Regions from separate parts of the Homo sapiens genome. Here all the other regions are linked to region 2. The links are contacts of gene promoters, found by promoter capture Hi-C in human tissues and cell types (Jung and others, 2019). All regions are on one chromosome and are shown on one strand. Each heading gives the region's core, a stretch centred on a gene start or on the middle of the fragment in contact. The rest is flanking DNA. Distances are from core to core; before and after follow the strand shown. Region 1 overlaps LOC101927200 (a long non-coding RNA gene). Region 2 holds the start of L3MBTL1 (L3MBTL histone methyl-lysine binding protein 1). Region 3 has its middle 4.2 kb from the start of LINC01728.

Region 1 (2,700 bases), core at 195-2,694, 260 kb before region 2:
GCTACTCTTCAGCTGTCTGTCCAGCCAAGAGGCACATTTCCTGGTGTAATACCTTTTTTCTAAGGAGAACATCTCACACTTTAAGTGTATACACAAATCACTTGGGAATCTTGTTAAAATTTCGGATTGGATTCAGTAGCCTCAGGTGGGACCTGAGAGCCTGCATTTTGGACAAGCTCCAGGTGATGATGGTGATGCTGGTCCTGGAGCCTTACTCAAAGCAGCAAGTATTTAAACCATCTCTCACCTCGGTCTCTCTTTCATGAATGTGTCTTTCAAGTTTCTTCCCCTACCTGCTGATGGCACCCAGTTATTAAAAGAGGGCTTTCTGTGAACTTTTGCAGTGAGTGAAGAGTGCCTCCTCCTTGCTGCTGAATTCCTCCCACAGTCCCCCAGGGCAGGGAAGGAAACAGTCCCTCCTCTCCCTTTATCCTGTCTTATTGAGGTTCTCCTTGTAGTAGCTGTTGCTTCCCAACCCATACACCCTGTCTTGTTCCACTTTCTGTTGCTATAACTTAATATCTGGGACTGGGTAATTTATTAAGAAAAAACATGTATTTCTTACAGTTCTGAAGGCTGGGAAATCCAAGGCTGAGGGGCTGCATCTGGTGGGGCCCTTCTTGCTGTGTCATAATGTGGTGAAAGCATCACATGATGAGAGCCAGGGAGTGTGCCAGCTCAGGTTTCCTCTTCCCGTAAAGCCACCAGTTCCATTATGGGTGCCCCAGCCTGATGACCTTATCTCATCTTAATTATCTCTCAAAGGCCCCACCTCCAATCAACATATGGATTTGGGAATTTGGTTTCCGCAACATGAAATTTAGGGGGCACATTCAAACCATAACACCCCTTTTATCAGACTAGTACCCCAGCCCCTGGGTCTTGTGAGTCCTGAAGGCTCACCCTGTTCCCTTTCCCAGAGACTTGACTTTGGCAGATCTGCCCCCTCTTGGAAGCTACTCTCTTCTCACTCCCATCCCCACCAGTGGCAACCAGTAGCTAGTGACTGACGTGGAAGTACAAATGCCAGTCCCCTGGCCTCAAGTAGGGGCCAATCTGTGGTACAATTCACACTCCAGAGCTTCCTGTGGATCAGGTTAAAGCTGATCTCCAGCTTCAGGTCCTTCCCCTACCATGTCCAGCTCCCTTCACTCCCCATCTGCAATAATTTACTCTCTGCAAAAATTCTGCAAGAATCTCCATCTAGGAAAGCTGACTTAAGACATCCTCTCCATCAGATCCTCTTTCTCCTCCCTAAGGAGTTCTCTACTCTCTTCTTTCTTCCCAGCCATAATGGCAGATGCAGAATGCCAGAAACTAGAAACCAGTGTGCAAATAATGGAACATACCTTGGGAAGTACAACTAAAATATCACAAAGAAGAAACTCTAGCACCTTGAGCACCATGCTGCCATCCACACTCTCAGCTGCAACCCTAGCATGGCCCTGGGGTTCTGTCTCTTACAGGGAGGCCACCCACCAAGCCAGGGAGGAATTGTAGCATGGTTTCCTCGCACGCTGAATCTAAGTTACCAGCAGATGCTTTGTCCGTGAGCCTCACCTGGCCTGGCCCTGGCCTTCCCAAAGCAAAGCCCTTCCCTTGTTACCATGGTGGCCATGTGCAGGAATGGAAATACAATGGGAACAGACAGGAATCTGGAGAAAAGAGAGACATCATCTTCCACGCATTCCTGGCACCTCTTTCTTTGGCCCATTAGGAAACCCACACCCTCTTCCCCCAGCCTATCAGCTGCCCACATTCTGGGACCCAGGATCTTCAGAAGTGCTTTTGATCCCTGCTATGTGTATGCATATGTGTATGCGTATGTGTATGTGTATGCGTGTGTGTATGCGTATGCGTATGTGTATGTGTAGACATATGGCTGGAGGCAGTGAGGGAAGCGAATGTGCCCACAGGCCCAGGGGCAGTGGAGGAAAGGGGGAAGAATGGTGAAAGGAGAGGGTTAAGGAGCTGGCAGCCACACAAACACCTTCCACATTGCACTCCTTGCCATTTCTTTTCTGTGAATTTAAATGCATTCTGTCACACTGAGTTATGTCACCCAGAGGAAATGCCCAACTCGGCGACGTTTTTAAAGATTATTTTTTAGATCACCTATCACTATCCATTTGAGGAACGATTGTTCAATCTGAAAAAAATAAATTCAAAACTGTCCCCATCTAAGCAAGATGGAAAAATAACTTTCCCTATTCTTTTATTTTCTTTCTTTTTATTTTTTTAAGAAGGTTTATTTCTGAAGGACAGGTTTGAAAATCAGTTTTCACCTTGGCATCTGGCTGGATTTAAGCACCTCTGTAAACCTTGTCATACGAGTAAACAAATGAATGGACAGCCAGCTGTGTGACCTCAGGCCATTCATTTCACCTCTCTGAGCCTTAATCTCCTCAATTGTTACACTGAGATAACAATACCGACCATGACCATCAAATGAGATGATGTCCAGGACAGTCCTTGAGTGTGTAAGGTGTCTGTTCCACTAAAGTGTCAATTCCTCAAGGGCAGGGAGCAGGCTCCGGCCAATTCTGCCCTCCCAGTGGAGCTTGTATAGGGCCTGGCTCACAAGAAGTGCTTAATACATGTCAGATGAATGAATGGTTCAACGGATGATGGTTTGGTGGTTGGATGTCTGGACATCCAGAGAAAGGGATGCATGATACAGGGATGGATGGATGAAACAGT
Region 2 (2,700 bases), core at 85-2,584:
GGTGGACACTGAAGAAAGTTTTCAGCCTTCTGCCGTCAGCCTCTCTTGGAACTGCTCTGAGCCTAGGGAGCTACCTCACTTGAAGGCTCTCCTAGAAGCCGCCAGCCAATGACGAGTTGCTATGAGGTGTAAAGACCCCACCCCCTTGCCTTACTTTGGAACACCTCTGCAGGGCCATCTCAGTTCCAGAGCTTCCATTAGGTCAGGCTGAGGCCTCTGTTGAGACTACATCAGCAGTTCAGCTTCTTCTTCCGCCCAACCCGTCATTCCCCTACTGGTGATATTCGCAAGAGCACTCCGATAAACCTACACTCAAATCTTGCTATCGGAGTCTGTTTCGGGGGACCCGACCTAAAACAACCATTGTAGCCCCAGCCCAGAGCCGTGCACATAGCAGATGCTCAATAAATATCTGTTGGCTGAATGTGTCCATGGGTATTTTCTCTTGATGTCTGACAAGGTTTTCTCAATCCCTTGCCTTCCAAGGCCTTGTATACAAAAACGACCAATAAATGTCCTTACTATAGGTGTTGGGTGGGGAGTAGAGCCCTCGACAGCTACCCAGAAAACAACACACAGCAAGGCTGAGCGCTACAAACTTGGGGCCTCGGCCCCGCCCCTCGCCGCAGCTGCTTCCCGGACTCGGGAGGGGACGGAAGCGGCCCTGAGCGCAGGGTTCCAGGATCGGGACCCGCCACCAGCCTCCCGGGACTGGTATAGGCAAAGGCGGGCGGGGCGGTCACTGATCCGACAGTTCCGCAGAACGGTTACTTTTTAAAACGCTAAAATGGCGGAATTCTTTTTATTCTTTCTCTTTATGGCCAAAAAAAAAAAAAGAGAGAGAAACAAAAAAAATTCCATATTCCATTATAAAAATCCAAAATTAATGGTAGGAAAGTTTGCCAAATGACTCATTCATTTCCCAAGAAAACCAAAACCCCGCCCTCCACACCTTTCCATTAATAAAAAAACTCTTAATTGATTGCGTATCTCCAAACACGCAGCCTCCACCCTCCTCGCCCCTCCTGATCGCAGCCCGAAGCCACGCCGCAGGGTCGGCTGGGCCTGGAGTCCCGCACCCGCCTGGCCCCCTGCGCGCTCCGCCCAGACCGCTTTCCCCGGCGTTTTCCCGAACCTCCTCCCCAGCCCGCGCCCCCCGCCGGAGGCGCTCGGAAGGAGCGAGACGCCGGGGCCGCAGACCTGAGCCCTCGCCGCCCTGGACGGAGCGGGGTGGCGCGGCGCCCAGGGGACGCAAGGTCTGAGCCCACGCACCGCTGGTTGCTTACCTGCCTGGCCAGCCGGTGGCCGCCCAGCGCCTAGCTACGGTCCGAGCCGGGCGCCGCGCGCCTGCGCGTTCGGGGGGCGGGTCCGCCTCCCTGCAGGACGCAGAGCGCGGGGCCCGAGCGCCGGGCACATCTGCCCGGCCCAGGCGCAGGCCCAGGCTTCTGTGGCGCCCGCGCCCTCTTGCCTGCCTTCGAGGCCCTGGTTGTGCGCGCCTCATGCCCCCTCAACCTAGGACAGGTTTGCCGCACGGGCGTGGCGGGTCGAGATTTTTCCTGCCCCCGAACCCCTGCATCACAGCTAGCAGAGCGCAGCGGGGGCGCAGGGACCGCGGAGCTCGAAGAGAGAGCCTGGAGGGCTACCGAGCTGAGTGGTTAGTGACAAAAGACGAGGCTGCACCCAGGCATGCACCCCAGCCGAGTGTCTGCTCTGTCCAACGCCTTCCCACCGCGCCTGCCCTCACCCTGGAGGGGAGCTCAGGAGCGTCAGAAAACGGCCTCAGGAAGGGTGAAGGGCACGTGCGACCGGAGAGAGGAACCCTCGTGCGGGGACTCTGGTCCTGGCCCTGCCGGGCATAAAGAGCGGCATTAGCCGCGTCTACTTTTGGGTGACCCCACTGCGAAGGGCTGGGTAACATCAGTATCCCCCAGGTCCTCCATTTCGACATTGGTAAAGACTATCACCCACTTCATGGCGTATGGTCGTTTTCAGTTTGGGTTCCTGTGGTGGTGTAGCAATCACTGCCCCTCTCTGCTTCACTTTGACTGATCTCTTCGCCTCCACCTGATCTCTCTAATTAATCAAATCTCCTTGTTATTGGTTCTGGTAACACAAGATACCTGTCTCGCTTACACATACCACAGCTGGCACTTCACATAGATTTGAGTAATTCCAGAGGCTAAGAGGTTTCAAGCTCCAAGAGGGTAGGAAATATTAGTTTTTGTATTCCTAGTACCTAGCCCAGAGCGGGGCACAGAGTGGGTGCTTAATAAATATCTGTTGAGTGACTAAATGATGTAGGGTATGCAGATGAAAACAGGGTAACTTTTGGTACAGTCCACCATCCAGCCCCTCTCCCACACCAATGATTTAATTTAATCCCTTGATTTTACTTGGCCTTAAGTCATGGCCACATGTCAGACCACCAGGCTCCTGATTCCCTCCCAGGCCAGATGAGAAAAGGGTTCCTAATGAAATGTAGGCAAATTCTCCAAATTGCTGTGATCGACAGGTTTAAATTTATGCAGAATTTAACTATTCCGGTTGCCACGCCAACGCATTGCATGTGTTCTTCCTTGCTGCAATGTCAATTTTTAATCACATCTCATATTATTGGGAACAGGATTGCATCAGTTAAGGATGCTGGTTGCCATAACGATGGATGCCTTTTTCTACACATTGATACATACACAACCATCC
Region 3 (2,700 bases), core at 151-2,650, 380 kb before region 2:
GTACTATCTCATTGTTTTAAGCTGGGTGCAGTGGTGCATGTCTGTAGTCCCAGATACTTGAGAGGATGAAGTGGGAGCATCACTTGAGCCCAGGAGTTTGAGGCTACAGTATGCCATGAATGTGCCTGTGAGTAGCTACTGCACTCCAGTCTGGGCACCATAGTGAGACCACATCTCTTAAAAAGAACACAAACAAAAAATGTATTCATTGTTGGCTTTTTTTTTTTTTTTTTTGAGATAGAGTCTCGCTCTGTTGCCCAGGCTGGAGTGCAGTGGCGCGATCTCGGCTCACTGCAAGCTCCGCCTCCAGGGTTCACACCATTCTCCTGCCTCAGCCTCCCAAGTAGCTGGGACTACAAGCACCCGCCACCATGCCCGGCTAATTTTTTGTATTTTTAGTACAGACAGGGTTTCACCATGTTAGCCAGGATGGTCTCGATCTTCAGACCTAATGATCTGCCCACCTCAGCCTCCCAAAGTGCTGGGATTACAGGCATGAGCCACCTCACCCGGCCCATTGTTGGTTTAATTTGCATTTCTCTCCCTGCTGGCTAATGATGTTTGGCATCTTTTTATGTGCTTATTGTCTTTGTACATCTTCTTTGGAGATATGTATATTCAGATCCTTTGCACAATGTTTAAATTGGGTTATTTGTTTAGTTATTGTTGAACTGTAGGAGTTCTTTATATATTCTAGATATAAGTCCCTTATCAGATATATAATTTGAACTTTTCTCTCATTCTGAGTAGTCTTGCACTTTCTCAGTGGTGTCCAACAAAACATAAAAGTTTTATATTTTGATTATGTAGAGTAATTTCATATAATTGCTGATAAGGTAGGCTTTATGTCTGCCATTCTGATGTTTGTTTTTATATGTTTCTTTTTTTTGTTTCTTCTAGTCCTCCATTATTACCTTCTTTTGTACTAGATATTTTCTAGTATTCCTTTGTCATTTCTTTCACTATATATATTTTAGTTATTTTCTTAGTGGTTGCCCTGGAGATTATAATTAGCATCTTAATTTATAACAACCTAGTTATTACCTTCATTTCAATTGTATACATAAACCATTCTCCAATATAACTTCATTCCCTCTCCAACTTTTGTACTATTTTTGTCATACAGATTACATCTTTACACACTGTATGACCATCAACATAGATTCATAATTTTTGCTTCATATCGCTATCCTTTAAAACAAATAAGAGAAAAAAAGGGTTACAAAGAAAAAAATAAATTTATTTTTCCTTTTGTATGTATTTTGGCCTTTGTATTTACCTATGTAGTTACCTTTATTTCTTTATGTCGATTTGAGTTACTTCCTATTGTCCTATCATTTCAGCCTGAAGGACTGAACATTTCGTTAGTATTACTTGTAGAAAAGCTTCAGGCTGAAATACCTGACAAACTGCCTCCATTTCTGTCTTTCTGGGAATGTCTTAATGTCTCCTTCATTTTTAAAAGATAGTTTTCTTTGGATATAGAATTCTTGGTTGACAGTTTTTTGTCTTTCAGGGCTCTGACTATACCAACCCACTGTCTTCTGACATCTATGGTTTCTGATTAAAAGTGAGCTGACAATCTTATTAAGGCTCTCTTATACATGGTGAGTCACTTCTCTCTTGATACTCTGAAGATATTCTCTTTGTCTTTGCCTCTTAACAGTTAAATTATGATGTGTCTAGGTAAGGATCTTTCTTAGTTTATCCTAGCTGGAGTTTGTTGAGATTCTCGAATGTGTAGATTAATGTTTCTCATCAAATTTGGGAAGTTTTAGCCATCCCTTTTTTTTTTTTTCTTTTGAGACGGAGTCTCACTCTGTCACCCAGGCAGGCTGGAGTGCAGTGGTGCAATCTAGGCTCACTGCAAGCTCCGCCTCCCAGGTTCACACCATTCTCCTGCCTCAGCCTCCCAAGTAGCTGGGACTACAGGCGCCCGCCACCATGCCTGGCTAATTGTTTTGTTTTGTTTTGTTTTGTATTTTTAGTAGAGACGGGATTTGACCATGTTAGCCAGGATGGTCTCAATCTCCTGAACTCATGATCCACCCACCTCGGCCTCCCCAAAGTGCTGGGATTACAGGCGTGAGCCACCACACCCAACCTAGCCATCCTTTTTTTTCTCAAATATTCTTTCTGCCACTCTATCTTCTCTTCTAGAAATCACATTATGCATATTTTTGTATTCTTGGTCTATCTCAGTATGCTTGATAGGTCTTTGAGACTCTTCATTTTTCTTCATTCTTTTTATCTTTCTCTTCCTCAGACAGATAATATCATTTGACCTATCATCAGGTTTGCTGACTTCTTTTTCTTCTGCCTGTTAAAATGTTCTGTTGAGCTCCTCTAAGTGAATGTTTCATTTCAGCTACTGTACTTTCAACTCCAGAATTTTTGTTTTAATAATTTCTATCTCTTTATCGATATTCTATATTTCATCAGACATTTTTAAACTTTTCTTTAGTTCCTTAGACATAATTTCCTTCATGCTTTAAGCATATTTTAAATAGCTAATTTAAAGCCTTTGTCTAATAAATCCAACATCTGGGGTTCCTTAGTGTAGTTTCTCTTGTTTTTGCCCCTTTTTCCTGTTTATGGGCCATCCTTTCTGATTTCTTTGCATAACTTGTATTTTTTGTTAAAAAAGTTGACCTTTAAAATAATATAATATGGCAACTCTGGAAATCAGATTCTCCCCCT

The links. The method cuts DNA at HindIII sites, captures the fragments that hold promoters and counts their contacts. A contact is called where the count stands out against the background at its distance.
Region 1: a fragment that was not itself captured here is called in contact with the fragment with the promoter of L3MBTL1 in region 2 in 1 of the 25 tissues and cell types used here (neural progenitor cells).
Region 3: a contact is called between a fragment that was not itself captured here and the fragment with the promoter of L3MBTL1 in region 2, in 2 of the 25 tissues and cell types used here (spleen and thymus).

The regions. Positions count from the first base shown.
Region 1 is chr20:43,770,817-43,773,516 of GRCh38, reverse strand. The region is part of intron 1 of LOC101927200 (a long non-coding RNA gene); the gene reads right to left. Among named protein-coding and RNA genes, the nearest start is that of GTSF1L, 45 kb to the right of the region's middle. The HindIII fragment of the contact is 3,261 bases long and covers 1-2,700 here.
Region 2 is chr20:43,506,331-43,509,030 of GRCh38, reverse strand. It overlaps L3MBTL1 (L3MBTL histone methyl-lysine binding protein 1), which reads right to left and starts at 1,334. Exons shown (of 22, transcript NM_001377303.1): 1 at 1,287-1,334. RefSeq lists a silencer at 1,124-1,453. The HindIII fragment of the contact is 9,495 bases long and covers 1-2,700 here.
Region 3 is chr20:43,889,194-43,891,893 of GRCh38, reverse strand. No RefSeq gene overlaps it. Among named protein-coding and RNA genes, the nearest start is that of LINC01728, 4.2 kb to the left of the region's middle. The HindIII fragment of the contact is 4,952 bases long and covers 1-2,700 here.